2 separate regions of the Homo sapiens genome follow, and region 2 is linked to region 1. Evidence: promoter capture Hi-C in 16 types of primary human blood cells and fetal thymus (Javierre and others, 2016). All regions are on one chromosome and are shown on one strand. Each heading gives the region's core, a stretch centred on a gene start or on the middle of the fragment in contact. The rest is flanking DNA. Distances are from core to core; before and after follow the strand shown.

The links. The method cuts DNA at HindIII sites, captures the fragments that hold promoters and counts their contacts. A CHiCAGO score of 5 or more calls a contact.
Region 2: a contact is called between the fragment with the promoter of KLF1 here and the fragment with the promoter of GADD45GIP1 in region 1, in 1 of 17 cell types (erythroblasts). The highest score is 5.9, in erythroblasts.

The regions. Positions count from the first base shown.
Region 1 is chr19:12,955,475-12,958,480 of GRCh38, forward strand. It overlaps GADD45GIP1 (GADD45G interacting protein 1), which reads right to left and starts at 1,749. Exons shown (of 2, transcript NM_052850.4): 1 at 1,389-1,749. The coding sequence starts at 1,738. RefSeq lists enhancers at 1,076-1,125, 1,225-2,097 and a silencer at 1,526-1,695. The HindIII fragment of the contact is 49,128 bases long and covers 1-3,006 here.
Region 2 is chr19:12,885,887-12,888,874 of GRCh38, forward strand. It overlaps KLF1 (KLF transcription factor 1), which reads right to left and starts at 1,315. Exons shown (of 3, transcript NM_006563.5): 1 at 1,168-1,315; 2 at 1-256. The coding sequence starts at 1,254. RefSeq lists a cis regulatory region at 205-2,045, enhancers at 345-606, 1,170-1,510, 1,619-1,957 and a promoter at 1,249-2,267. The HindIII fragment of the contact is 12,769 bases long and covers 1-2,988 here.

The DNA.
Region 1 (3,006 bases), core at 499-2,998:
AAGGCTATTAGGAAAACAAGAAGATTAAACACCAGGAACACACTTGACCTACCCCCTTCACGCTCCAGGATGTGGCATTATCTATAAGAGATGCCCCTGGTCTGGCCCGACGCGGTGGCTCACGCCTGTAATCCTAGCACTTTGGGAGGCCGAGGCAGATGGATCACCTGAGGTCAGGAGTTTGAGACCAGCCTGGCCAATATGGCGAAACCCCATCTCTACTAAAAATACAAAAAATGAGCCGGGTGTGGTGGTGGGCGCTTGTAATCCCAGCTACTCGGGAGGCTGAAGCAGGAGAATCTCTTGATCCTGGGAGGCAGAGGTTGCAGTGAGCTGAGATTGCACTCCAGCCTGGGCAACAAGAGCAAAACTCTGCCTCAAAACAACAACAACAACAACAACAAAAAGATGCCCCTGGTCCTTCAGACCTGCCTCTGTATCTGACCTCTGCCCTCTTGGTTCCAGGACCCATCACCTTCCTGCCCTCACCTTTTCCCCAGCCACACTGGCTTCCTGGCTGTTCTTTAAGGCATATCGTATCTCAGGGCATTTGCCCCAGCTGTTCCCTTTACCAGAAACTTTCTACCCAAGAGATCGCCCCATAGCTAAGTCTGGTTATTCAGGTCTTTGCTTAAACATCACCTCCTCAGAGAGGCCTGAGGCTTCCCAAACCAAAGCTGCCCTCAGGCACACACTCTTCACTCTTTTACCTTCCTACTAGTCGGCTGTCACCATTGGTATTATCTTGCCTGTCAGCTGTCGCCATCTGATATTAAGGGCCCTTTTGGGGCCTGCCTCGGCCTCCCAAATAACTGGGATTACAGGCACGAGCCACCGCCCCCGGCCTGGGACAGGGTCTTGCACACGGTATGCGCTCAGTAAAGACTTGGTGGTGATGGCCGGACGTGATGGCTCACACCTGTAATCCCGGCACTTTGGGAGGCTGAGGCAGGTGGATCACTTGAAGTAAGGAGTTTGAGACCAGCCTGGCCAACATGGTGGAACCCCGTCTCTACTAAAACTACAAAAATTTGCCGGGCGTGGTGGTGCACGCCTGTAATCCCAGCTACACCGGAGGCTAAGGCGGGAGAATCGCTTGAACCGGGGAGGCGGAGGTTGCAGTGAGCCAAGATCTTGCGACTGCACTCCAGCCTGGGCAACAGAGCGAGACTCTTGTCTCCAAAAAACAAACAAACAAACAAACAAAACTTGCTGATGAATGACTAAATGGACGTTATTCTGAGTTTGTTTTGCGGCCAGGTGAGCGTATACATAAATCTACAACATGCAGATGCTGCGACGTGACCCCGAAGGGGTAGGCACGGTTTGGGGCCCAGTTCGCCCACGGGGCACAGAGGGCAGCCCCGCGTCTGCCTGCACGCACGCACCTCTCCCGACGCTTCTGCTCTTCGGCCAGCTGCTTCACCCGCAGCGACTCCTGCATGGTCGCCAGGCTCGGGTACCATTCGCGTTCTTCGGCCTCCAGCTCCCGCAGCTGCTCCGGCGACGGCCATAACGAACCGGGGACCACCCCGGAGGCGGCGCCGTAACGCGCGAACTGCTTAGCCGCGTAGCGCGGTCCCAGCTGCCACCGCGGGGTCAGGAGGTCCTCGGGGTCTGGCCACCGGGGTCCCGGCCTGCGGCGCGGGGGCGGCCGCGCCCGGTAGCCACGGGAACCCGGGGCCAGGGTCGCCGCCACACCTAGTAGGCTGCGTGCCTGTCGCACGGACGCCGCCATCTTGGCTGTGCGGGGTCCTCACAGGCCCGCCGGGCTGTCCATGCCCGGTGCCTGAGCGCGAGGCCCGGTGTGGGCCAGGGCAGGGCGAGGGGTGTCCCTGCTGCCTCAGTTCGGGGGAGGGCGGCGAAGGGGATAGTATGGGTTTTATACGTTTCCAAGTATAACTTTAAATTTTAGTTAAGCAGTTACTGATTAAAGTCATTTTTAATTTTCACTTTTTTTCTTCTCCTTTCTGCACACTGACACTTAAAAATACATATTTTTGTCGGGCGCGGTGGCTCACGCCTGTAATCTCAGCACTTTGGGAGGCCGAGGCGGGCGGATCACCTGAGGTCGCGAGTTCGAGACCAGTCTTTTTTTTTTTTTTTTTTCGAGACAGAGTCTCGCTCTGTCGCCCAGGCTGGAGGGTAACGGCGTGATCTCGGGTCACTGTAACCTCCGCCTTCCGGGAGGAGAGGAGAAACCCCGTCTCTACTAAAAATACAAAATTAGCCGGGCATGGTGGCGCATGCCTGTAGTCCCAGCTCCGCGGGAGGCTGAGGCAGGAGAATCGCTTGAACCCGGGAGGCGGAGGTTGGGGTGGGCCGAGATCGTGCCATTGCATTCCAGCCTGGGTAACAAGAGCGAAACTCCGTCTAAAAAATTAATAAATAAAAATAAATACATACATGCATACACACACACACACATATACATATATATATACGCTCACCTGGCTACAAATATATATTTGTGTATTTTTTTCTAAGTGTTCAGTGTTCTTTGGGTAAAAATTGTATTTTTGTTTTTTGCATATCAGAAACCATACTGTTTTATTCATCCATGTGTCTTCTGTGCACACAGTAGCCCTCCAATGAATAATCTGAAATCATGTTGAATGAACACATTGAAAAATCAAAAATAAGAGGCTGTGGCAGGGCCACTGATATGGTTTGGCTCTGTGTCCCCAACCAAATCTCATCCTGAATTATAATCCCCATGTGTCCAGGGAGGGACCTGTAATCCCCACATGTCGGGGAAGGGAGGTGGTTGGATCACGGGGGTGGTTTCCCCCATGCTATTCTTTTTTTTTTTTTTTTGCCTTCAAAAAGTTTATTTTATTTTATTTTATTATTATTATACTTTAAGTTTTAGGGTACTTGTGCACAACGTGCAGGTTTGTTACATATGTATACATGTGCCATGTTGGTGTGCTGCACCCATTAACTCGTCATTTAGCATTAGGTATATCTCCTAATGCTATCCCTCCCCCCTCCCCCCACCCCACA
Region 2 (2,988 bases), core at 65-2,564, 70 kb before region 1:
CGCCCAGAGTCTCGGGCGGCGGCGGATATTGCGCCCCGGAGGCCTCGCTGGGCGCCAGAGCGCAGGTCTGGGGCGCGCCACCGGGCTCCGGGCCCGAGAAGTTGGTGAGGAGGAGATCCAGGTCCCAGGTGGCGTCCGCGCCCCTCTCATCGTCCTCTTCCTCCCCGGGCTGGTCCTCAGACTTCACGTGGAGGGGCGGCTCCGTGGGGTCAGGAGGACCCGGGCCCATGTCCTGCGCCTCTTCGGAGCGCCACCACTGCGGGAGGGAGCAGGCAGCTCGAGGTTCGGTGGACACTGGGGTGCCCTGCCCAGGGACATCGCGGGCTGGACACTCTGACGCAGAGGCTTTGGAAAGGGGTCTTGTTTGCCTGTCTGTCTGTCCCACTTCCCCAACACTGCCCCTCTAACCGCCCCTCTCCCCGCTCCCCCCCCAGCTCCAGGGACAGAAACCGATCAGGTCTGGCTGGAGACAGGAGATAAGACTTCCACTATCTGGAACCACACTCGGGGATGGGGGAAGGGGTAGCAGAGCTGCTGGAGATGGAAAACTGGCAGGGGACGGGGGAGAGGATGCCAGCCTTGACTTAGTTTTCCCCCAGAACATCCCTCTCCTTCCCTGTCTCCCAAAACAAGATTAATTCCGAAATTTTGGATGTCCCCCAGACACACTCATCATTTCCCGCTGATATCTGGAAGATTGTCTGTGAGCCTAGATCTCGTTCCTTTTTTTTTTTTTTTTTCTTGAGATAGGGTCTTACTCTTTTGCCCAGGCTGGAGTGCAGTGGTGCAGCTCACTGTATCCTTAATCTCCTGGGCTCTAATGATCCTCCTGCATCAGCCTACGGAGTACCTGGGACTACAGGCACACGCCCCCATGCCTGGCCTAATGTTTTTGGTATTTTTTGTAGAGATAGGGTTTCACCATGTTGCCCAGGCTACCTTCGTTTTCTATTACCGAAATAGATCACACTTAGAACCTCAAACCCCTAGACCACCCTCCTCACCCCCTGCCAGACTAAGCTGAGATCTCCTCTCCTGGACTGAGCGTACCTCAGTCCTGGTTAAGTCTCTTGATTTCAGGTCAAGATGCAGGTCTGGACCCCAAGATCTGTGACTGTGGCCCTGGATTCCAGCCAGCCCACCTAGACCCCACCTTCTAGGCCCCACCTTGAGGAAGTCATCCTGTGTGTCCGGGAAGGGGCCCAGGGCGGTCAGTGTGCTGATGGAGGGCAAGGCGGTCTCGGCTGTGGCCATGGCTGGCTGGTGCCCACCCTGGGCCTCAAGCCTCCTCTTCCTCGGCTGCCTCGTGAACTCTGAGGCTGTGATAGCCCCTTCGAGGGCTCCTCTCTGTCCTTAGCTGATTGGCTGCAGCCTCTGATAAGGCAAAGCAAGGCAAGGCGGCGGGGGGGCACTGTTTCTGGGGCACAAACTTCACGTTGGCCTGTCTGGGGCTGGGGTTAAAGACTAACCCTGTGTCCAAAGCCAAGTCAAATATCAAGGGTTGGGGGGTTCAGGGTTTGAGGGTCCAGGTGCTGGGTAAAAACAGACATTGGGTCTCCAAAGAAGGAGAGACTTGGGGGTCTTCCCTCAGTTAACTTTCCTGGAAAAGGCAGAAAGGGTATTCTGGGAAGAAGCTGTGGGACCCCCTGTCCCCCTGATTGAGGCTCCACAGCCCTCCCCCTCCCCAGTAAACAGCAACAACCGTGCTGATGGCGGGACTTGGCACGAGCTCCCCGCCAAGCATTATCAGACACCCCAGACGTTGGAGGCTGCTATCAGGTGGGGGCCCAGGCCAGCTAGAGCTCTGTCCTCCGGTGAAGGGGAGGGCTGGGAGTTGGGTCTTCAAATTAGCCTGGCGTTCAATTTGCCTGGGTTGGGACCTCCCAGGGTCTCAGCCCTGCAGCAGGAGGAAGCCCCTGACAACTGGCCCACCATTGTCTACTGGGGACCCTTGGGTGGCACTGCATGGGACTGCATGGAGGCTGGTTCAGTGCCAGCTGCTTTAGTGCGATGGGGGCAGCCAAGGGAAAAGTGACCCTCTCTCCTCCTGGGTGGGATAGGACCGTTGGATCAAGCCACAGGCAGTACCTGACCTGCAGGAGACCAGTGCCCTGGCTCTGGGCCTGGCTGCTCCTTGATTCTGCCCAACATGAGGAGAGGATCTGAGTTTCTACAACAGGAACCTCCACTCTGGTGCCCTGGGAGCCTGGGAAGGGGACATGGATACGTATTACAGACACATAACTCATAGTCACTCATTGGAAGACTGAGGCAGGAGGATCACTTGACACCAGGATTTCAAGACCAGCCTGGGCAACATAAAACCTATCTCTCCAACAAAAAGCTGTGAGTGGTGGTGCATGCCCATAGTCCCAGCTACTCAGGAGGCTGAGGTGGGAGGATTGCCTGAGCCCAGGAGGTCGGGACTGCACTGAACTATAATCACACCACTGCAGTCCAGCCTGGGGCACAGAAAGCAAGACTCTGTCGCTGGAAAAAAAAAAAAGTTGGGTGGCCATCTTTATTCCTGGCAGATCAACCTGGGTGACACAAACAAAAACAAGGCCAGGTGCGGTGGTTCACACCTGTAACCCCAGCACTTTGGGAAGCCAAGGTGGGGAGATCACTTGAGGTCAGGAGTTCGAGACCAGACTGGCCAACAGGATGAAGCCCTCTCTCTGCTAAAAATACAAAAATTAGCTGGGCATTGTGGCACATGCTTGTAATCCCAGCTATTTGGGAGGCTGAGCTGGAGAACTGGTTGAAACTTGGAGGCATGGGGCCAGGCGCAGTAGCTCACGCTAGTAATCCCAGCACTTTGGGAGGCCGAGGCAGGCAGATCACCTGAGGCCAGGAGTTCGAGACAAACCTGGCCAACACAGTGAAACCCTGTCTACTAAAAATATAAAAATAGGCCGGGGATGGTGGCATACACCTCTAATCCCAGGTACCCGGGAGGCTGAGGCACAAGAATCACTTGAGCCTGGG